7 separate regions of the Homo sapiens genome follow, and all the other regions are linked to region 7. The links are contacts of gene promoters, found by promoter capture Hi-C in blood cells and fetal thymus (Javierre and others, 2016). All regions are on one chromosome and are shown on one strand. The core of a region is centred on a gene start or on the middle of the fragment in contact, and the rest is flanking DNA. Distances in the headings are between cores, read along the strand shown. Region 1 has its middle 8.3 kb from the start of LINC00664. Region 2 has its middle 3.9 kb from the start of ZNF708. Region 3 overlaps ZNF430 (zinc finger protein 430). Region 4 has its middle 4.7 kb from the start of ZNF431. Region 5 overlaps LINC00664 (long intergenic non-protein coding RNA 664). Region 6 overlaps ZNF430 (zinc finger protein 430). Region 7 holds the start of ATP13A1 (ATPase 13A1).

What was found. Contacts are between HindIII fragments. The CHiCAGO score rates a contact against its expected background, and 5 or more counts as called.
Region 1: a contact is called between a fragment that was not itself captured here and the fragment with the promoter of ATP13A1 in region 7, in 1 of 17 cell types (monocytes). The highest score is 13.0, in monocytes.
Region 2: a contact is called between a fragment that was not itself captured here and the fragment with the promoter of ATP13A1 in region 7, in 1 of 17 cell types (monocytes). The highest score is 5.3, in monocytes.
Region 3: a contact is called between a fragment that was not itself captured here and the fragment with the promoter of ATP13A1 in region 7, in 4 of 17 cell types (M0 macrophages, monocytes, M1 macrophages and 1 more). The highest score is 8.9, in M0 macrophages.
Region 4: a contact is called between a fragment that was not itself captured here and the fragment with the promoter of ATP13A1 in region 7, in 1 of 17 cell types (M0 macrophages). The highest score is 5.1, in M0 macrophages.
Region 5: a contact is called between a fragment that was not itself captured here and the fragment with the promoter of ATP13A1 in region 7, in 1 of 17 cell types (erythroblasts). The highest score is 5.0, in erythroblasts.
Region 6: a contact is called between a fragment that was not itself captured here and the fragment with the promoter of ATP13A1 in region 7, in 1 of 17 cell types (M1 macrophages). The highest score is 6.6, in M1 macrophages.

What each region holds. Positions count from the first base shown.
Region 1 is chr19:21,473,721-21,477,057 of GRCh38, forward strand. No RefSeq gene overlaps it. Among named protein-coding and RNA genes, the nearest start is that of LINC00664, 8.3 kb to the right of the region's middle. RefSeq lists an enhancer at 775-1,428. The HindIII fragment of the contact is 1,474 bases long and covers 1,029-2,502 here.
Region 2 is chr19:21,331,715-21,334,874 of GRCh38, forward strand. No RefSeq gene overlaps it. Among named protein-coding and RNA genes, the nearest start is that of ZNF708, 3.9 kb to the left of the region's middle. The HindIII fragment of the contact is 3,203 bases long and covers 8-3,160 here.
Region 3 is chr19:21,024,383-21,027,579 of GRCh38, forward strand. All of the region lies in intron 2 of ZNF430 (zinc finger protein 430), which reads left to right. Among named protein-coding and RNA genes, the nearest start is that of ZNF430, 5.3 kb to the left of the region's middle. RefSeq lists an enhancer at 1-296. The HindIII fragment of the contact is 3,709 bases long and covers 1-3,197 here.
Region 4 is chr19:21,135,687-21,138,994 of GRCh38, forward strand. No RefSeq gene overlaps it. Among named protein-coding and RNA genes, the nearest start is that of ZNF431, 4.7 kb to the right of the region's middle. The HindIII fragment of the contact is 7,891 bases long and covers 1-3,308 here.
Region 5 is chr19:21,500,121-21,503,107 of GRCh38, forward strand. LINC00664 (long intergenic non-protein coding RNA 664) reads left to right here. Exons shown (of 11, transcript NR_037194.1): 11 at 1,151-2,987. Among named protein-coding and RNA genes, the nearest start is that of ZNF429, 4.0 kb to the right of the region's middle. The HindIII fragment of the contact is 2,961 bases long and covers 28-2,987 here.
Region 6 is chr19:21,047,616-21,050,511 of GRCh38, forward strand. All of the region lies in intron 4 of ZNF430 (zinc finger protein 430), which reads left to right. Among named protein-coding and RNA genes, the nearest start is that of ZNF430, 28 kb to the left of the region's middle. The HindIII fragment of the contact is 4,673 bases long and covers 1-2,896 here.
Region 7 is chr19:19,662,289-19,665,453 of GRCh38, forward strand. It overlaps ATP13A1 (ATPase 13A1), which reads right to left and starts at 1,388. Exons shown (of 26, transcript NM_020410.3): 1 at 983-1,388. The coding sequence starts at 1,378. RefSeq lists enhancers at 555-604, 736-1,718, 990-1,091, 1,435-1,724 and silencers at 1,125-1,384, 1,825-1,874. The HindIII fragment of the contact is 4,289 bases long and covers 537-3,165 here.

The DNA of each region.
Region 1 (3,337 bases), core at 516-3,015, 1.8 Mb after region 7:
TATAATGGGTATTGAGAAAACTGTTAGATATTATTAAAGAATTCCTATGTATCCTCCAGTTGAAAAGGTGTTCTGATGTGGCTCAAGTGCTTTCTGACCTCTACCTCCAGGGTCTAAACTAGCAAATCAAATCAGGACACCTACAGAAAACCGTTGGCCATTTTCTTTTCTTTCTTTCTTTTTTTTTTTTTTGAGACGGAGTTTCACTCTTGTTGCCCAGGCTGGAGTGCAATGGCGCGATCTCGGCTCACTGCAACCTCCGTCTCCCAGGTTCAAGCAATTCTCCTGCCTCAGCCTCCTGAGTAGCTGGGATTACAGGCGTGCACCACCACGCCTGGCTAATTGTATTTTTAGTAGAGACGGGGTTTCTCCATGTTGAGGCTGGTCTTGAACTCCTGACCCCAGGTGATCCGCCCGCCTCGGCCTCCCAAAGTGCTGGGATTACAGGCGTGAGCCACAGCGCCCAGCCTGGCCATTTTCAAATAGAAAATGAAACACACCCGTTAATGAAAGTAATCCAGTGATTTTCAAAAGGAGAAGTCAGACTGAGATGCAGCGCAGTCAGGGCACAATTACCCCAAGGATAGACGCTTCACACAAAATGCCTGAGGAGCCTTTCTAAGATGAGCACATTTGGCCAACGTAATTCATGCTTACCCATTCTCAGCCCCCTCTGCCCACCTCCCCCCCGCCCCATTCCTAATGGCCATCCCACGATGTGGTCAGCAGTGTGGTACAGCATGGTGAGAGAGGGGCTCAGGGATGGGATGAAGGTTTTTCCTGCATTATCAAAATGATTAAAAAGTTGTTAAAAAGGTGTCCAAATTTTCTTTTTACCCTAAAATAACTACTCAGATGCATTATACAAGTAGACCCAGGTAAGGGAAAGAGCAAGCGCATTTCAAGCCTCAGCTCACTTCTTAATTAGCTGTAATTCCCTGAGCAGGTGACCCTGCCTACTTCAGCCTGTTTCCCTGCCCATAAAATGCACTAATGCTGGGGAAGCCGCGCTGGGAGGTGGGTCCTGAAGCTTTATCCAATCAGTGGCGCTGGCGCGGGAACCGCCCAATCAGGCGCGGAGTTGGAGAGGAGGGCGTGGCCTCCGGCATTTGGCGGGCCCTTTGTCTCGCTCCTGCCAGAGTTTTAGTTGCCTGTCTCTGCTATTCTGCGTCCTCCACCTCGGGAGCCCCAGGTGACTTTGTCACAGCCGGTGGGTGTGCGGGTTGAGCATCCCGAGATGGGAGAGCGGCCTGTGAAACCGGCTGGACCGGCCTCCCCACAGTCCGCTCCTGGGTCGCCGACCTGAGTCCCCGCTGGCACAGCTCCGCTCCAGGCCACTCTGGCCGCAAGATGGCGGCTGGACTCGCAGCCAGGACCACAGCGTCCCGCCAGTTTCTGCGCGGCGCCAGTCCGGGGCTCTCTGGGCAGCTCTGCACCCGCAATCCCGAGTATTTCCCGGGTTGTTCAGGGAAGACAGGCGGGTCATCGGCAGAATCCCCACTCGGTGTATGCGTTGGAGGGGCTGCTGCCCGTGGGGTCTTAAGTCTTTTCTGATTATTATTATTTTTTTGTGAGACGGAGTCTCGCTTTTGTCTCCAGGCTGGAGTGCAGTGGCATGATCTCGGCTCACTGCAACCTCCGCCTCCTGGGCTCAAGCGATTCTCGAGCCTCAGTCTCCCGAATATCTGGGATTACAGGCACCCGCCACCATGCCCGGCTAATTTTTTGTATTTTTAGTAAAGACAGGGTTTCACTATGTTGGCCAGGCTGGTCTTGAACTCCTGACCTCAGATGGTCCGCCCCCCTCGGCCTCCGAAAGTGCTGGGATTACAGGCGTGAGCCACCGCGCCCGGCCACAAAGAAATTTTTCCGCCGTCCTTTTCGGCCACAAATAAATTTTTCCGCCGTACTTTTCGTATTTATTAAATTTTCTCATTAGAGCCTATTATTGATTGTAATGCATTTTTCTGTGAAATTTTGCTGCCATTCATTGAATGCCAATGATTCAGAATGCCTGCTCTGCAAGAGTACACACAGCTAAAAACTGTAGATATCTAAAGAATTATTTTTAATATCTATGTTGTATTCAGCATATTATGCGTTAAAATCTCTCTTGGCCGGGCGCGGTGGCTCACCCCTGTAATCCCAGCACTTTGGGTGGCCAAGGCGGGTGGATCACCTGAGGTCAGGAGACCAGCCTGGCCAACATGGTGAAACTCCTTCTCTACTAAAAGAAAAATACAAAAATTAGCCAGGCTTGGTGGTGGGTGCCTGTAATCCCAGCTACTCGGGAGGCTGAGGCAGGAGAATCGCTGGAATTCGGTAGGCTGAGGTTGCAGTGAGCCAAGATCACGCCACTGCACTCCAGTATGGGTTACAAGAGCGAGACTCCGTCTCAAAAAAATAAATAAATAAAATCTCTCTTATTTTTATTTCTACATTAGTGTTTCTTTTCGAGGGGGTATGTTTTTTTAGATCAGTTAATTGTATTTTTGCTTTCAAAGCTTGATATTATGAATTGAATGATAATTTTCAACTCTGTACAATTTTAGACAATGTGATGCTTAATTTATATATGAATTAGCCGTATGTCATCTATAGAAATATCGATGTGTTTTTCATCTGTGTTGCCACTACTTCGTTTATGACATACTCTTTCCATGGTTTTCAATGATTATTCTGTCTAGGTGAGTAGTCGGGAAAATAATCCTAAATTCACAATCTACTTATATTTTGAATCTGTATAATTATGTGAGAAGAACACTCTTTATTTGAAGGTAATGTTTGAAAAATGTCGTAATGTCTCTTATGTAGTCTTTAATTTTTTTTTTTGAGACTGAGTCTCTGTCGCCCAGGCTGGAGTGCAGTGGCGCGATCTTGGCGGGACTCCATCTCAAAAAAAAAAAAAAAGAGCTTCTGCACAGCAAAAGAAACTATCAACAGAGTAAACAGATAACATACAGCATGGGAGAAAATTTTTGCAAACTATGCATCCGTCGAAGGTCTAATGTCTAGCATCTATAAGAACTTAAACAAATTTACAGTAGAAAAACAACAACCCCGGCTGTGCGTGGTGGCTCATGCCTGTAATTCCAGCACTTTGGGAGGTCGAGACGTTTGGATCACTTGAGGTCAGGAGTTCAAGACCAGCCTGGCCAACATGGCGAAACCCTGTCTCTACTAAAAGTACAAAAATTAGCTGGCTGTGGTGGCATATGCCTATAATCCCAGCTACTGGGGAGGCTGAGGCAGGAGAATCGCTTGAACCCAGGAGGCGGAGATTGCAGTGAACCAAGAGTGCACCACTGCACTCCAGCCTGTGTCAAAGAGTAAGACT
Region 2 (3,160 bases), core at 359-2,858, 1.7 Mb after region 7:
AAAGGCAAGCTTATCTTGCTATTTGGCCTTGGCCCTAATGGTCAGGCCGTGGTTGTCTATTTTCTCCTGTGGTATGAGGGACTGTGTGGGTATAGGCACCAATCACATGCATACAATGTCTACGTGTATTTCTGCATTACTCAATATTACCTTACAAGACATCCAACTCTAAATCAGAGGAAAAAATAGTACCTTTAGAGTGTCCACTGTGTGAAGGTAAGTAGTACTGAATCTGTCATTAAATCCTGGCATCCTGTCTGCACTGGGTGCATGTATTAGTTAGCTATTGCAGCATAACAAACCATCCAAAACTTATTAGCTCATAATTGAAATGGTCAGCCATTTGGGCTGGGCTCAGTGGGGCCATTTCTCTAGTCTCAGCTGAGCATTTTTAGACATGTATCATCAGCTGCTTGTTGACTAAGCAGCTGTGTTTCTGGGAGTGAGCTTCTGCTTCTGGAGCTGTCAACAGGGGCAACTTTTTTTCTCCTTTCCATGGTATCTTATTCTCTGACTGGCCAACGTGGGTTTTTCCCATGGAGATGGCAGCATTCTGAAATAAAAACAGAAGCATTCAAGACCATTTGAGCCTGGGCCCCAAACTAGCCCACTGTCATGTCCACAGGTTTCTACTGCCCTGAGCAAGTACGACCCGCCAGATCTAGTGTTCAGAAAACAGATTCTGGATCTCAATGGAACAACTGTAAAAGCACCTGGCAATGGGCAAGAATACAGGAGGATGAAAAATTGCTACCATTTTGGTAATCATTATTATTCTGCCCTTTTTAATGTATGTGGTTTATAGAACTCTTCCACAGAAAGAAATTTGTCCAAAGACTAACGGCTACTAAGTGGCTGAGCTGAGATTCAGAATAAATTCTGACTTCAAAGCCCATGCACCACCATAGATAACAATATTACAGAATCTGCCCTAGTCCTTTGAAATCCTGGAGAGTGGAACTTCTACAATAGAGGACAGAGGTCCTTTAGATTCATGCCCATATGGTACTGTTTATTATTGAGAATAATTCTCTCAAGAAATTCCAGAAGCAGACGGTGGCTTAAACCTGTAATCATAGTACTTTAAGAGGCTGAAATGGAAGAATCACGTGAGCTCAGGAGTTCAAGTGCAGCTTTGGCAACATGGTAAAATCTTGTCTCCATGAAAAAAAAAAGTTTAAATTAGCCAGGCATAATGGTGCATGTCTGTAGTCCCAGCTACTCAGTTGGCTGGGGCAGGAAGATTGCTGGAGCCTGGAAGGTCGGGGCTGCAGTGAGCCATGATGGGTTACACCATTACACTTCAGCCTGGGTAATAGAGTGAGACCCTGTCTCAAAATAAATAAATAAATACAATAAATTACAGAAGCAATTTGAAAGGACATAAAATAATTTGGAAAAATAGCTAAGGATTGAGTTTATGAAATCAAAGCTGGCAGGGCATCGTGGCTTATGCCTGTAATCCCAGCACTTGGAGATGCCAAGGTGGGTGGATCACCTGAGGTGAGGAGTTCGAGACCATCCTGGCCAATCATGGAGAAACCCCATCTCTACTAGAAATACAAAACTATCTGGACATGGTGGTGCTCACCTGTACACCCAGCTACTTGGGAGGCTGAGGAAGGAGAATCATTTGAACCCAGGAGGCGGAGGTTGCCATGAGTGGAGATCCTGCCATTGAAGTCTAACATGGGTGGCAAGAGCAAAGCTCCACCTCCAAAAAAAAAAAAAAATCAAAGCCCAGCAACACATTATATATTTTTCATCATAGAAAAAATTTGGGCTGGGCACAGTGGCTCACACCTATAATCCCGGCACTTTGGGTGGCTGAGGTGGGTGGATCACCTGAGGTTAGGAGTTTGAGACCAGCCTGGCTAACATGGTGAAAGCTCGTTTCTACTAAAAATACAAAAAATCAGCCAGGCTTAGTGGCAAGTGCCTGTAACTCAGCTACTCGGGAGGCTGAGGCAGGAGAATTACTTGAACCCGGGAGGCTGAGGTTGCAGTGAACCAAGATCCTACTATTGCACTCCAGCTTGGGCAACAAGAGTGAAACTCCGTCTCAAAAAAAAAAAAAAAAAAAAAAGCCGAACAACACATTATATATTTTTCATCATAGAAAAAATTGGAAAACTTTTAAAAGAAAAAAAACTTTAGAGAAATAAAATTAAATTTAACAGAGTTTAAGTGAGCAATGAATAATTTGCAAATCAGGCAGACTGTGGATCCACAGTAGGCTCAGTGAGACTCCAGCACAGCCACATGGTAGAAAAATATTTATGGACAGACAAAGCAAAGTGACATTCAGATAATGAAAGTGAGGTACAGAAACAGCAAGATTGATTAAAGCCAGGAATTTGCCTTATTTGAACATGGTTTGAACAGTTGATGTCCTCTTATTGGCAACAACACAGCAGTTGGTACAAAAATGGATTCCAGTCTATTTACATATCCAATTAGATTTCCATTTACTATATATTAAAAAACCTATTAACCAAAATTAAACACAATAGGAAACAGCTTTAGGCTATAATTTAATAATTTTTCCCTTTTGGACATCTTCTCAATGTTGAGAAATAGACCAGAACTTTAGATAATGATATCACTCTGTTACCATAAAAAAAATGTACTTATTTAGGCTGGGCGTGGTAGCTCATGCCTGTAATCCCAGCACTTTGGGAGGCTGAGGCAGGCAGATCACCTGAGGTCAGGAGTTTGAGACCAGCCTGGCCAACATGGTGAAACCCCATCTCTACTGAAAATACAAAACTTAGCTGGGCATGGTGGTGAGCACCTCTAATCCCAGCTACTCAGGAGGCTGAGGCAGGAGAATCCCTTGAACCCAGGAGGCAGAGGTTGCAGTGAGCTGAGATCGTGTCATTGCACTCCAGCGTGGGTGATAAGAGTGAAACTTCATGTCAAAAACAACAACAACAAAAAGTACTTAATTAGTCTCAAATTCCACTTTAAAATAGCAGAACTGTGGATTTTGAAAAGTGGAAACAAAGACTTCAGGTTATTAGTTTTTTAAAGGATTACAGTAGAGGGGACCTCCTTGTGTTCAAATCTGCTGTTTACAAAAGAAAAGCAAAACCTGGCCTGTAGATTCTAAAGATCTTCCTATTTCCTTAAATTTTCAGTTTGATTGTGTCACATTTAC
Region 3 (3,197 bases), core at 417-2,916, 1.4 Mb after region 7:
AGGACTATTGCAACAGGAGGAAATACCAACTGTAAGAACCTTAAGGATTGCAAAGTTTAGGCAGAAAAGGGCTTTCTTTCATGGGGAGGAGCAAACAAAATTAGAAGTTGGAGACGGCCGGATGCTGTGGCTCACACCTGTAATCTCAGCACTTTGGGAGGCCGAGGCAGGCGGATCATGAGGTCAGGAGATGGAGACCATCCTGGCTAACATGGTGAAACCCCGTCTCTACTAAAAATACAAAAAAATCAGCCGGGCGTGGTCACGGGCGCCTGTAGTCCCAGCTACTCGGGAGGCTGAGGCAGGAGAATGGCGTAAACCCAGGAGGTGGAGCTGGCAGTGAGCCTAGATCGCGCCACTGCACTCCAGCCTGGGTGACAGGGCCAGATTCCATCTTAAAAAAAAAAAAAAGAAGTTGGAGGTGACTGACAAATGAAGGGTGAAATAATCAGATTTTAGATCAGAGAATGTTTTACCCTGAAGTCAGCATGTTCTTAGGAGGGACATAAAATGGAGTTGTATATTGGCTCAGATTGAGGGTAGCTCCAAGTTCAGGAGCCTGTGAAAAATTTTATTTAGACCACTGAAGACAAATTCAGCTGATTTTTTTAAATGAGAAAAAGAAAATGTGCAGAGTTCTTATCGGAAAGGGGTCACAATCCACACCCCAAGAGAGGGTTCTTGGATTTCGCTCAAGAAAGAATTCAGGGTGAGTCTACAGAGTAAAGTAAAAGCAAGTTTATTAGGAAACAGAAGGAATAAAAGAATGGCTTACTCTATAGGCAGAGCAGCCCTGAGGGCTGCTGGTTGCCCATTTTTATGGTTATTTCTTGATTATATGCTAAACAAGGGGTGGATTATTTTTGCCTCCCAATTAGACAATATAAAGTCATTTTCTGATGTTTCCATGATGTCTCCATGGCATTTTGTAAACTGTCATGGCACTGGTGGGAGTGTAGCAGTGAGGACCACCAAAGGTCACTCTCATCCCATCTTGGTTTTGGTGAGTTTTATCCACCTTCTTTACTGCAACCTGTTTTATCACCCAGATCTTTATAACCTGTATCTTGTGCTGAACTCTTGTCTCATCCTGTGACTTAGAATGCCTAACCATCTGGGAGTGCAGCCCCATAGGTCTCAGCCTCATTTTACCCAGCCCCTATTCGAAATGGATTTGCCCTGATTCAATACACCTCTGACATTTCTCCTTTTTTTTTTATCTGAGACGGAGTCTCACTCTGTTGCCCAGGCTGGAGTGCAACGGCATCATCTCGGCTCACTGCAACCTCCACCTACCAGGTTCAAGTATTTCTCCTGCCTCAGCCTCCCCAGTAGCTGGGATTACAGGCGCCTACCACCATGCCTGGCTAATTTTTGTACTTTTTTTTTTTTTTTTTTCAGTCCAATCAGTTTACTCTGCTTTCTCCATCTCCTCCTCCCATTAGTCAGCCATTGGAACTGGGAAACCTCCTACTTTCCCCCTCTTTGTACTCTTTCCACAATTCATCTTGTCTTTCTGCAGCCATATCTTCTTAATACAGACTGAAGTTTCTGTCATTGAGAACAGAGTGATCCATAAACCTGGTCATCACACTTTTTATGAGATAGTAATGTGGGCCCCAGATCCATGGCATGGTTTCCTCTGGATGCACTCCTGGATCTAATTTTTGTATTTTTAGTAGAGACGGGGTTTCACCATGTTGACCAGGATGGTCTCCGTCTCTTGACCTCATGATCCACCTGCCTCGGCCTCCCAAAGTGCTGGGATTACAGGCATGAGCCATCATGCCTGGCCGTAATCTCTGACTTTTTTTTTTTTTTCTTGAGACGGAGTCTCACTGTGTTGCCCCGGCTGGAGTTCAGTGGCACGATCTCAGCTCACTGCAACCTCCGCCTCCCAGGTTCAAGTTATTCTCCTGTCTCAGCCTTCTGAGTAGCTGGGATTATAGGCGCACGCCACCACGCCTGGCCAGTTTTTGTATTTTTAGTAGAGATGGAGTTTCACCATGTTGATCAGGCTGGTCTCAAACTCCTGACCTTGTGATCTGCCTGCCCCAGCCTCCCAAAGTGCTGGGGTTACAGGCGTGAGCCACCGTGCCCGGCCAATCTCTGACTTCTTTAAGCAGTGTTTTGTGATTCTTGTCATAGGGATCTTTCACCATTCTGATTAGCTGTATTCCTAGATATTCTATTCTTTTTGTGGCAATTGTGAATGGGATTATGTTTTTGATTTGGCTTTTGGCTTGGATGTTTTGATGTACAGAGATTCTACTGATTTTTGTACGTGTATTTTGTATCCTGAAACTTTGCTAAAGTTGTTTATTAGTTTAAAGAGCTTTCCTGCTGAGACTATAGGGTTTTGAAGATATAGAATCATGTCATCTGCACACAGGGATAGTTAGACTTCCTTTCTTCCTGTTTGGATGCCTTTTTTCTTTTCTTTTCTTTTTTTTTTTTTTTTTTTTTTTGAGACAGAGTCTTGCTCTCGCCAGGCTGGAGTGCAGTGGTGTGATCTCGGCTCACTGCAACCTCCGCCTCCCAGGTTGAAGCGATTCTCCTGCCTCAGCCTCCTGAGTAGCTGGGACTACAGGCACATGCCACCATGCCAAGCTAAGTTTTGTATTTTTAGGAGAGACGGGGTTTCACCATGTTGGCCAGGATGGTCTCGATCTCTTGACCTCGTGATCTGCTCACCTCAGCCTCCCAAAGTGCTGGGATTACAGGCGTGAGCCCCCATGCCCGGCAGATGCCTTTTATTTTCATCTCTTCTCTGATTGCTCTGGCCAGGATTTCCAATTTTATGTTGAATAGGATGTTTGAGAGAAGGCATCCTTATCTTGTGCCAGTTTTCAAGGAGGAATGCTTCCAGCTTGTGTCCATTCAGTGTGTTGGCTGTAAGTTTGTCGTTGATGTCTCATTGTTTTGAAGTATATACCTTCAATGCCTAGTTTGTTAAGGGTTTTAAACATGAAAAATGTTAAATTATATTGAAAGTATTTTTAGCATCTATTGAGATAATCTTGGTATTTGTTATTAGTTCTCTTTATGTGATGAATAACATTTATTGATTGTATATGGAACCAACTTGCCTCCCAGAGATGCAGCCTACTTGATTATAGTGGATTAGCTTTTTGATGTTCTTCTGAATTCAGTTTCCCAGTATTTTGTTGATGGTATTTTCATCAATGTTCATCAAG
Region 4 (3,308 bases), core at 473-2,972, 1.5 Mb after region 7:
TGTCATTCAGGCTAGAGTGCAGTGGCATGATGGCTCACTGCAACCTCCGCTTCTCAGGTTCAAGCAATTCTTCTCCCTCAGCCTCCTGAGTAGCTGGGACTGCAGGCATGAGCCATGGCGTCCAGCCTGTATAACGTTTAAAACCCCACCCTCTCAGGCCCTGAGTGACAGAAGATATGATTAAATGATGGGCTGCAGCCCTCTCAGGCAGGGCTTCCTCCCTGAGGTGAGCTTGACCCACCCCAGAGGATATTTGCATTCAACCTTGCGTATAAGGTCATACGCATTTGTAAATAATATATCATATGGCGGCCAGGCACGGTGGCTCATGCCTGTAATCCCAGCACTTTGGGAGGTCAAGGTGGGTGGATCACGAGGTCAGGAGTTCAAGACCAGCCTGGCCAACATGGTGAAATCCCACCTCTACTAAAAATACAAAAATTAGCCTGGCATGGTGGGCAGCACCTGTGGCGCAGGTGGCACATGTGGGCTGCAGGAGCCAATCTGCTACTCTGGAGGCTGAGGTAGAGAATTGCCTGAACCCGGGAGGTGGAGGTTGCAGTGAGCAGAAATCATGCCACTGCACTCCAGCCTGGGCGACAGAGTGAGACTCCATTTCAAAAAAATATACATGGCTATACACAAACGAAAATAACATAATAACACATGTTTTAAAATTTCAGCTTTTTTTGGCCAAGCGTGGTGGCTCATGCTTGTAATCCAAACACTTTGGGAGGCTGAGGCAGGAGGATCATGAGGTCAGGAGTTCCAGCCCAGCCTGATCAACATGGTGAAACCCCGCCTCTACTAAAAAATTAACTTTGGGAGGCCAAGGCAGGTGAATCACCTGAGGTCGGGAGTTTGAGACCAGTCTGACCAACATGGAGAAACCCCATCTCTATTAAAAATACAAAATTAGCTGGGTGTGGTGGCACATGCCTGTAATCCCAGCTACTCGGGAGGCTGAGGCAGGAGAATTGCTTGAACCCCCGGGAGGTGGAGGTTGCAGTGAGTTGAGATTGTGCCATTGCACTATAGCCTGGGCAACAAGAGCAAAACTCCATCTCAAAATAAATTAGCCAGGTGTGGTGACGTGCACCTGTAATCCTAGCCACTCAGGAGGCTGAGCCAGAAGAATCACTTATACCTGGGAGGCAGAGGTTACAGTGAGCTGAGATCATGCCACTGTACTCCAGCCTGGGTGACGAAGTGGGACTCCATCTCCATGAAAAAATAAAAAAAAAAAAAATTCAGCTTTTTTACCTTCCTGGTTTACAGTCCTTTGAGTAGGCAGCCTGAGATTTTAAAAAGGAGGTAATCCTCTGAAATAGAATGTGAGACACATGTGAATTTTGAATTTTCTAGTAGCCAAACTTTAAAAAGAAACAAAGAACGGGTTGAATTGATTGTAAGAATGTAGTTAAGCCAATATATCCAAAATATCATTTTAATGTGTGAGGAATATGTAATTATTAATGAAGTATATAAATATTTGCAACTAAATTTTTGAAAATAACTGCATATTTTACCTTTCTAGCACATTGCAGTTCAGACCAAGCACATTCCAGGCACCCAGGAGCCACACATGGCAGCTCTGATGTCAGTGGTGTGAAGGGCCAGAGGGGAAGGAAGGGCCTCTCCCTACTAACATCTATCTTCAGTTCCGAGGTTGGAACAGATAGTGGCCATAGAAAGAGCTGAGGCCAGCAGGAATAAAATAACCACAGGTAAACCACTGCTGGCCACCTGTTGCCCACCTTCCTTTTAGAGATCAGGCAGTTAACAAAGGATGATGGGGCCACAGGAGAAAAAAACTCTACGTCTTCAGTTCTGTCCACACTCTTGAACTCCAATGTTTAGATATGGAGAAAATAGATTAAAGGCATTTATTTTGCTATTTGGCCTTGGCCCTAATTGTCTGGCTGTGGTTATCGGTTTTCTTGAGCGGTGACTGCACTCCTGTGCACTCCTGGAGTGACTGCACAGAACTTCAGGCGATCTGCCTGCCTCAGCCTCCTGAAGTGCTGGGATTACAGGTGTGAGCCACCACGCCCAGCCAAAATCTTCTACATATAAGTGTATGCCATGAGTGCACACAAGAGGCCTTTTTTAATTTCTGTCATTTGTAGAGCCATAAGAAAAAAACAGCGAACAAAGAGTGTATGATAGCAAAGATGTCTTGATTTTTGATCTTATAAAAAAAAAAGTCTATCTGGGCCAGGTGCGGTGGCTCATGCTTGTAATCCCAGCACTTTGGGAGGCCGAGGTGGGTGGATCACAAGGTCAGGAGTTCGAGACCAGCCTGGCCAATATGGTGAAACCCCGACTCTACTAAAAATACAAAAACTAGCTGGACATGGTGGCACACACCTGTAGTCCCAGCTACTCGGGAGGCTGAGGCAGAAGAATCGCTTGAACCCGGGAGGTGGAGGTTGCAGTGAGCCACCACCACACCACTGCACTCCAGCCTGGATGAGAGAGCAAGGCTCTGTCTCAAAAAAAAAAAAAAAAAGCTATCTATATCAATGTTGCCATCCACTTTTGAGAAGAAACTTTACTGGTTAGCTTTACCTTAAGATCTCCAATGGATATACAATTGCAAATGTTTGGAGGGGCCCTTCTGAGTCATGAGATTATTAACCCAAGGTTCAAGGTCCTGAAGTCTTGCTGCAGTGTGGATGGCAAGCAGACTCAATCTCTGGGTTATAGATTATAAAGAGTTTTACTGTCCTCAGTCAGTAGACCATTAAAAGCATTCTTTACCTGGTGAAAATATGCTTTGCCATAATGCACTGAAGTTTTGCTGCATTTAATCATATTAGACTTCAGTAGCAGAAGATACATGAGGTTCTATTATCTGGTGCATAAGACATCCAATGACTATTTTATAATAGTCAACACATTTTTTTCACTCTCAGTGAATCTGATTGTCATCAGTCTCAATTACAAAAACAATCCAGTCCATTTAGTTAGCTTTGCTTAACACTATTTTATCAGGGCTGGGTGCAGTGGCTCGCTCCTGTAATCTCAGCACTTTGGGAGGCTGAGGCAAGTGGATAACCTGAGGTCAGGAATTCAAGACCAGCCTGGTAAATATGGTGAAACCTCGTCTCTACTAAAAATACAAAAATTAGCCAGGCATGGTGGCAAGCGCCTGTAATCCCAGCCACTTGGGAGGCTGAGGCAGGATAATGGCTGAATCCGAGAGGCGGAGGTTGCAGTGAGTCGAGATGGCACCATTTGATTTATTTATACATAAATAGACTGTAACTTATTATTGTACCAACCACCGTGTTTTTACCAATAAA
Region 5 (2,987 bases), core at 258-2,757, 1.8 Mb after region 7:
TTAATGCATGTTTTCTGATAGTATAAAAGCTTTCTCATGCAAGAAGGCTGATGTTATAATAGTAGCTAAAAGAATATTAGAAAATATGTTTTTTTTTCATGGGACATTTCTGAAAGGTCTCTAATGATCAAGATACTTATTTCACTAGACAAGTTGTAAAACTGTTAAATAAGGTATTGTTCCTGGACCAAACTGAGAGTTGGGCTGCTATTTCTCATGGCCCAATAACGAGATGCAGATGAACTGGGGAGGAAGAGAGTTTTATTTCTGCAACCAGTTACAGGGAGAAGGCCTGGAAATTATCACCAGACCAACTCAAAATTACAACGTTTTCCAGAGCCTATATACCTTCTAAGCTATATGTCTACATGTAAGTGTGCATTCATCTAAAGAGATAAGTGATTAACTTCTTTTATTTAATCTGTAACTAAGGTCTGAGTCTTGAAGACCTTCCCCTGCAGCCTCAGTAAATTTACTTAATCTAAATGGGTCCAGGTGCTGGGGTAATTACCCTTATCTTGTCTCCTGCTAAATCACAGTGGTTTGGTGAATTCCTTCAGACCTCCAATAAACCTGTTTGTAGAGGCCTGGGGAATTTCTTCAGACCCCCAATAAAACTTGTTTAATCCTATAAGGCCCAAGAAAGGCCTAGGCGAAACTCTTGATGGGCTTTTGTTACATCCCAGCCTTTGTATAAGGTCACTGGCTTTTTTTTTTTTTTTAATTGAGACGGGGTCTCACTCTGTCACCAGGCTGGAGTGCAGCTGTACAATCTCAGCTCACTGCAAACTCCGCCTCCAGGGTTCAAGCCATCCTTCTGCCTCAGCCTCCCAAATAGTTGGGACTACAGGCACATGCCACCACGCCCAGCTAATTTTTTTGTATTTTTAGTAGAGACGGGGTTTCACCATGTTGGCCAGGATGGTATCGATCTCTTGACCTTGTGATCCGCCTGCCTCGGCCTCCCAAGGTGCTGGGATTATAGGTGTGAGCCACTGCGCCCGGCTGGTCACTGGCTTTTAATATTTAACTTAACCACTCAGTCAGTACTGAAACAGTTGTTAGTGAGGTCTGGCCTGCCACAGTATTACAGGTACAATAGTATTGAGCAAAGCTAACTAAATTGACTGGATTGCTTTTGTAATTGCAGATTGATGACAATCAGATTCACTTAGAGTGGAAAAAGTATGTTGGCCCTTATAAAATAGTCATTAGAAGGCCTATGTGCGTAATAGAACCTCATGTGTCTTCTGCTACTAAAGTCTAACATTACTAAATTCAACAAGGCTTTAATGCATTATGGCAAAGCACATTTTCACCAGGTGAGGAAAGCCTTTACTAGTCTACTGACTGAGGAGAGTAAAACCCTTTATAATCAAGAACCCAGAGATTGAATCTGCCTGCCACCTACACTGACGCAAGACTTCAAGACCTTGAACATTGGATTGATAATCTCACAACTTAGAAGGGCCCCTCCAAACTCTTGAAATTGTAAACCCATAGGAGATTTTAAGGTAAAGCTAACCAGGAAAGTTTGTCCTCAAAAGCAGATGGCCGTCTCCATGTAGATAGCTTTTTTCACAAGATCAAAAATCAAGACATCTCGTTATCATGACACTCTTAGTTCACAGTTTGTTTATGGTTCTACAAACCACAGAAATTTTAAAAAGTGGTCTCTTGTGTGCACTCATGGGGGTATACTTATATGTAGAGAATTTTGCAGCCAACATTATGTATGAGGAAACTTATTCCTTGAAAGGTAAAAGAAGAAGGGCCAATGTAGGTGAGAAGTTTTAATGAAACATTTGTTTTCTCACAATATCAAAAACAGAATATTGGTCCACTGCTCTTAACCTATTTCATAAGTTAAAAAGAACTTATTCAGAATAGGTTAAAGAGCATTGCCAGGAGGCCATTACTCTTCTGAATGGGTATCACTGTTTAGAGTAAATGAGGCAATGGTTACAAATTTATCCCTCTCAATAGGGCTCTATAGCAGATTATACCATAAAAACTATGCTTACACAATAGACTTTAAGTTTTCTCACAAAGTTATGCTAAATATAATTTCTTTTGATTACTTACTGGATAAATAGATATCTGTGCAGTTGCTAATAGTTGCCCATGGAGAACTACAGCCGGTATTACAGAGATGCAGTTGTAGATGATTCATGAACAGGCTGATTAGATGAAATGAGTAGATCATTTATCTAGCTAACTATTTGATCTATTTAACTTTAATTGGTTGTTCATGGGGACCCTGGCTAAAAAGCATGCTTCAAACTCTTGGTATTATCCTCCTGATAGTCAAAATGGTAATCTTCCTACTGCACTGTATTCTCTCAAAAGATGTAAACGTTTGAATGTAGTCATCTGTAGAATGTCAAATGGTCTCTCTTTAACTGGAATGACAGAAACTCAAAGACATATGTGACTATGAAGACAGCACAACCTATGAATGACATGCTAAGGACAAAAAACAAAAATAATGGAAACTGAGAGTGGCACTAAAGCCCCGAGTTTTGGTTACACTGTGACCTATGTAAGAACTTAACCAAACGGGGAATTTTTTAAAGAAAACTATTGGAGGCCATAATTCTGGACTGAGCTTATGCACTAGGTCCAAACAAACCAAACCAAAATGAGTCACTCATGCTGGATGTGACATAATTAAACTAAAAATTTAAGGCAACAGGTAGATTCTAAAACTGGCCAGGTTTTGTTTTTCTTCTCTAAATAGCAGATTTCAACACAAGGAGGTCCCCTGTACTCTAACACTTTAAAAAACAAATAAAAATAATTTCAAAATAATAAGCTGAAGTTTTTATTTCCACTTTACAAACCCACAGTTCTGCTGTTTCACAGTGAGATTCGAGTCTAAATAAGTACATTTTTGATGGTGACAAAGTGATATTAATGTCTAAAGTTTTGGTCTCAAACTTGAGAAGATGACAAAAGGGAGAAATTGTTAAATTAGTTGTAGCCTA
Region 6 (2,896 bases), core at 69-2,568, 1.4 Mb after region 7:
GATCTACTTCAGACCCTATTTGCCTGGGTTTCTCTCACACCTGGAGGTGTCAACCAGTGGAGCCTGCAGAATAGCAGAGAGGACTGCTTGCTCCTTCCTCTGGGGTCTTTGTCCCAGAAGGGGAATGATCTGATGACAGTGGGAACACTACTTTATAAGTTGTCTGACGATGTCTGTTGTGGGGGTCTCACCCAGTCAGGATGCATGAGATCTGGGAACCACTTAAGAAAGCACTCTGGCTGCACCTTGGTGGAGTGGCTGTGCTGCACTGAGGGAAATTCCATACATCTGTACTGCCTGGATTGCTCAGAGCCAGCAGGGGGAAAGACTAAGTCTGCTGATCTGCAGAAACCACCTCATTGTTCCTGTTTTATGTATTTCTTGTAGATAAGTTTTTTCTCATTTCCTGTTTTACTACCTTTATTTTTGTTAACTTTATCGTTACATGCTTTGATTATTTTTTCATTTTTTGCATACTTTTTATAAATATTATGTAATCACCTTGAAGTATAATGTAATCATCTTAAAATGGAGATTACATAAAACATCTTTTTTTTTTTTTTTTTTTTTTTTTTTTTTTTAGTATTTATTGATCATTCCTGGGTGTTTCTCGCAGAGGGGGATTTGGCAGGGTCATAGGACAATAGTGGAGGGAAGGTAAGCAGATAAACAAGTGAACAAGGGTCTCTGGTTTTCCTAGGCAGAGGACCCTGCGGCCTTCCGCAGTGTTTGTGTCCCTGGGTACTTGAGATTAGGGAGTGGTGATGACTCTTAACGAGCATGCTGCCTTCAAGCATCTGTTTAACAAAGCACATCTTGCACCGCCCTTAATCCATTTAACCCTGAGTGGACACAGTACATGTTTTAGAGAGCATGGGGTTGGGGGTAAGGTTATAGATTAACAGCATCCCAAGGCAGAAGAATTTTTCTTAGTACAGAACAAAATGGAGTCTCCTATGTCTACTTCTTTCTACACAGACACAGCAACAATCTGATTTCTCTATCTTTTCCCCACATTCCCCCCTTTTCTATTCGACAAAACCGCCATCGTCATCATGGCCCGTTCTCAATGAGCTGTTGGGTACACCTCCCAGACGGGGTGGCGGCTGGGCAGAGGGGCTCCTCACTTCCCAGAAGGGGCGGCCGGGCAGAGGCGCCCCCCACCTCCCGGACGGGGCGGCTGGCCGGGCGGGTGCTGGCCCCAACCTCCCTCCTGGACGGGGTGGCTGGCCGGGCAGGGGCTGCCCCCCACCTCCCTCCCAGATGGGGCATAAAATATCTTAAAGTTAAAAAAATAAGGCCAAGCATGGTGGCTCACACCTGTAATCCCAACACTTTGGGAGGCTGAGATGGATAGATCACCTGAGGTCAGGAGTTTGAGACCAGCCTGGCCAACATGGTGAAACTGTCTCTACTAAAAATACAAAAATTAGGTATGTGGTGGAGGACATCTGAGACTGAGGCAGGATAATCACTTGAACCCAGATGACAGAGGTTGCAGTGAGCCGAGATTGCGCCACTGCACTCCAGCCTGGGTGACAGAGCAAGACTCCATCTCAAAAAAAAAAAAAAAAAAAAAAAAGTAAAAAAGATATATTTTAACTTCTTAAACTTTAATTAAATACAAAACCTATACTGCTATGTTTTCCAGTTTGTTATTGATACTACAAATTATATTATGTATCTATTAACAGATTTATATCTTGTATTTTTATATCTACAGAACTTTAACGGTTTTATGCACCATTATGATAGTAAAAAATTCTATATGTATCTGTATATTTATATTTAATAGGGAGCTTTATATATGGTTTTATGATGCTGTCTAGCATCATTTTATTTTTCAACAAAATGGATTCATTTTAGCATTTCTATTTGTTTATATGCAGAGTCTGTGTTTCTCAGACTGGATCTTGGACTCCTGGTCTCAAGAGATCTGACTGCCTTGGCTTCCTAAAGCTGTAGAATTACAGGCATGAGCCACTATGTCTGGCCACCATGTAACATTTCTTGTTACATTTCGTGCAACATTTCTTGTTACGTTTCCTGCAACATTTCTTGTTACATTTCGTGCAACATTTCTTGTTACATTTCGTGTAACATTTCTTGTTACATTTCGTGTAACATTTCTTATAGTGAACACCCTGAAATTTAATTTAGGAAAGTCTGTATTTTTATTTTGTTTTTCAAGTAAAATAACTTTGAATTAAATATTATTGGTTAGAATTTTTTATTACATCAAAATTTGGGAAGTTCTCAGCTTTCGTTTTCTTTAATTTACCTCTGTATTACTTTTTCCCTACATTATTCTTCTCTTTTTTTTTTTTGAGACAGAGTCTCTCTCTGTCACCCAGGCTGGAGTGCGGTGGCTCGATCTCAGCCTCAGCCTCCCGAGTAGCTGGGACCACAGGCGCCCACCACCACACCTGGCTAATTTTTTGTATTTTTTCAGTAGAGGCAGGGTTTCACCGTCTTAGCCAGGACGGTCTCGATCTCCTGACTGTGTGATCCGCCTGCCTCGGCCTCCCAAAGTGCTGGGATTACAGGCATGAGCCACTGTGCCCAGCCCCCCTATATTCTTCTAAGATTTATTTCATGAATATATTGATGGACTTGATGGTGTCCAATAAGTTTTACATTCCATATTTTTCTTTTGTTTTGCAATTTTATATTTTTATGTTATATATTTTAGGGTATGCCACCTCATACCAATTAACTGTGTTTTGATGTTTTAGTTTATATTGTAATTGTGTATGACAATGTTTAACTCTGTACAATTTAAGGCAGTTTGGAGCAAAATCAAATATAAATCAGCCATATGTCTATTGCCAATATAATTATCTCTTTTTCCCTGTATAAATATTCTCTCTGTATTTTTTATGACTTGTATATTTGT
Region 7 (3,165 bases), core at 138-2,637:
CTTTTTGAAGGACAGAACAGGTTGTCTCTCAGGAGAGGAGAATGAGGATTCTACCCACATTCAGAGCCAGCCAGGGTGGGGGGCTTCTGTCTTTCTGTAGCCCTTGATGCTGTTCCCTTTTCCTCTTCTTGAGGCAAACACACTCCTGGAATCAGAGGGGAAGCTTCCTGATATACCTCAGTGTCCATGGCTCCAAACCTGCTGGTGTCACCTGAGGCAGGCCCAGAGAGAGACGACACAGTCACTGCTTCAGGCCCAGGGAAGCTCACAGTCACCAACTCCTCCGACGACACTTGGTCACTCAGAACTCTAAACTGTGGGTCAGGAGCGCGACCTTGCTTGCTGTTGTATCCCCGACAGAACTCAGTATCACCACCCTCATTTTGCGGAAAGACATCATGTAAATGACTCGCTCATAAACACCTCTGCCTCTCTTCAACACTGTAATTAACTGCATTTCATGCTCCTTTCCATCACAGTATGGAAGACCACTAAGCACTGGACAGCAAGACTTGGTTCAGTCTAAGAACCAACTAAGCTTCATAGATGGGGGAAACCTATCCCAGTGATCTCGCCTTACACTTTGAAAACCAAGGTAGGAGACAGATGAGATGGAAGGTAGGGCCGTTTCCAGAACAAGAGTAGTCGCTAATATGGGAACTAGTATAAACAACTCCTACCTGACCTGGGCGACGTATGCTGGGCCCTGCGCTAAGCCTTTTACAAGTATTACATCACTGAATCTAAATGACCATAACAGGGAGGACTTCAGAAAAAGGAAATAACCCGCACCAGGCATGCACAGCAAGTCAGCAGTGGGGTCATGATTAAGCCTGCGCCAAAGTGTAGAGGGTGCCCCTGGGAATCCAGGCCAGGCAGATGAGTGGCCCAGGTCGCGATGGTGACCGACAGGAAGGCCGCAGCTGGGACCCACGGCGAGGCTCGACCGTGCTGGGGGTCGGGCTCGCGTGTACACACTTACCGGGGTGCAGGTGAGCGCGCAATGCGCGTGCACAGACCAATGCCCCGAGAGGACAGTGAGCGCGTGCGCGAGGCAGATGGTGGCAAGCACGAGCAGCGCAGCTTCGGGGATCTGCACCCAACTGCTGCCCCAGCCCCAGCAGCCAGCGGCTGCGGCACCCAACCAGGCCGGGTAAAGCAGCCCGGCGAATGGCAGCACCGTGAGGCGCCGCAACAGCGCCAACCGCCGGTACGGCCACACGGCAGCCACCAGCTCGTCACCGTTCGCTATGAGCGCCGGCCCGGCGGCAAGGAGCGCGCGCGGCTGCGGCCCGGGCTTGGGCTGCCCGTCAGGCCGGACCCCGCAAGGCCGGGCCCCGCAGGGCACCGCGTTGCCCACCGCCGCCGCTGCCGCCATCTTTCCTAGCGCCGCGCTCACTTCCGGGCAGAGGAACGCCTCACTTCCGAAGTTTTACTTCCGGTAAGCCCTGAGCGCCGCCATGGCAGCCTGGACTAGGAAGAGCCAGGGCAACAGAACAGGCTGGCCCCGGCAGGGACTACTTCGGGTGCCGCCATGACAGGCTGTGGCCGGAAGAAGAGGCTGGGCGTCGCCATGACAGAGAGGGACTGGAAGACCTAACGGTGCCTGCCTCCGCTGCCACGCCGGACTGAGACCGGAAAAGACAAGGCCGGCAAGGCGGGCTTGGGCGCCACCATGACAACCTGAACCAAAAAAAGCGAGCCCTCCTCCTTGACTACACCAGCACCACCTGTCACCAGGGGCGAAGCCTGGACCCTGCGGAGGCGGGGTCGGGAGCTTCGGAGTTCAGGAGGCGGGGCCCGGTGCGGGGGGCGGGGCTTGTGAGGGGCGGGGTCGGGGACCGCCCCGGAACACAACCACACCGGACAAGAGCCTTAATGTGATAGATAAGAATTACAAATACTAGCCGGGCGCGGTGGCTCACGCCTGTAATCCCAACACTTTGGGAGGCGAGGCGGGTGGATCACCTGAGATCAGGAGTTCAAGACCCAACATGGTGAAACCACGTCTCTACTAAAAATACAAAAATTAGCCGGGCGTGGTGGCACATGCCTGTAATCCCAGCTACTCGGGAGGATGAGGCAGGAGAATTGCTTGAGCCCGGGAGACGGAGGTTGCAGTGAGCCAAGATTGCTCCACTGCACTTCAGCCTGGCCAACAGAGCAAGACTGTCTCAAAAAAAAAAAAAAGAAAAATGAATTACAAAAACCACTTTAGGCCGGGCGCGGTGGCTCACGCCTGTAATCCCAGCACTTTGGGAGGCCGAGGTCAGGAGATCGAGACCATCCTGGCTAACGCGGTGAAACCCCGTCTCCACTAAAAATACAAAAAAAAAAAAAAAATTCTCCGGGCGTGGTGGCGGGCGCCTGTAGTCCCAGCTACTCCGGAGCCTGAGGCAGAATGGCGCGAACTGGAGAGGCAGAGCTTGCAGTGAGCGGAGATTGTGCCACTGCCCTCCAGCCTGGGCGACAGAGCGAGACTCTGTCTCCAAAAAAAAAAAAAAAAAAAAAAAGAAATTACCACTTTAACATAAAAAATGAAAAACTGGTGTTTACTTGAAATTATATACTTCTAGGCCGGGCGCGGTGGCTCACCCCTGTAATTCCAGCACTTTGGGAGGCCGAGGCGGGCGGATCACGAGTTCAGGAGATCGAGACCGTCCTGGCTAACACAGTGAAACCCCGTCTCTACTAAAAATACAAAAAATTAGCCGGGCGTGGTTGCAGGCGCCTGTAGTCCCAGCTACTCGGGAGGCTGAGGCAGGAGAATGGCCTGAACCTGGGAGGCGGAGCTTGCAGTGAGCCGAGATCGCGCCACTGCACTCCAGCCTGGGCGACAGAGCGAGACTCTGTCTGAAAAAAAAAAAAAAAAGAAATTATATAGTTCTATATTATTAACTGTACTGTTGCATAAATGCTATTTGAACAAAACCACAATAGGACTACTTAACAGTACCAATTAGTAGGATTAAACAGTATGTGTGACAAACAGTAACTATTTTATGTTTCTTTTTGTCCTCTGATACAGCAAATTTATTTAAACTTAAAATTTATTGGATATTTAAATTTTGTAGCTTATATTGTTGCATATTCTTTTTTTAATTTTTCGAGATGAAGTCTCACTCTGTCGCCCAGGCTGGAGTGCAGTGGCGCGATGTCCGCTCA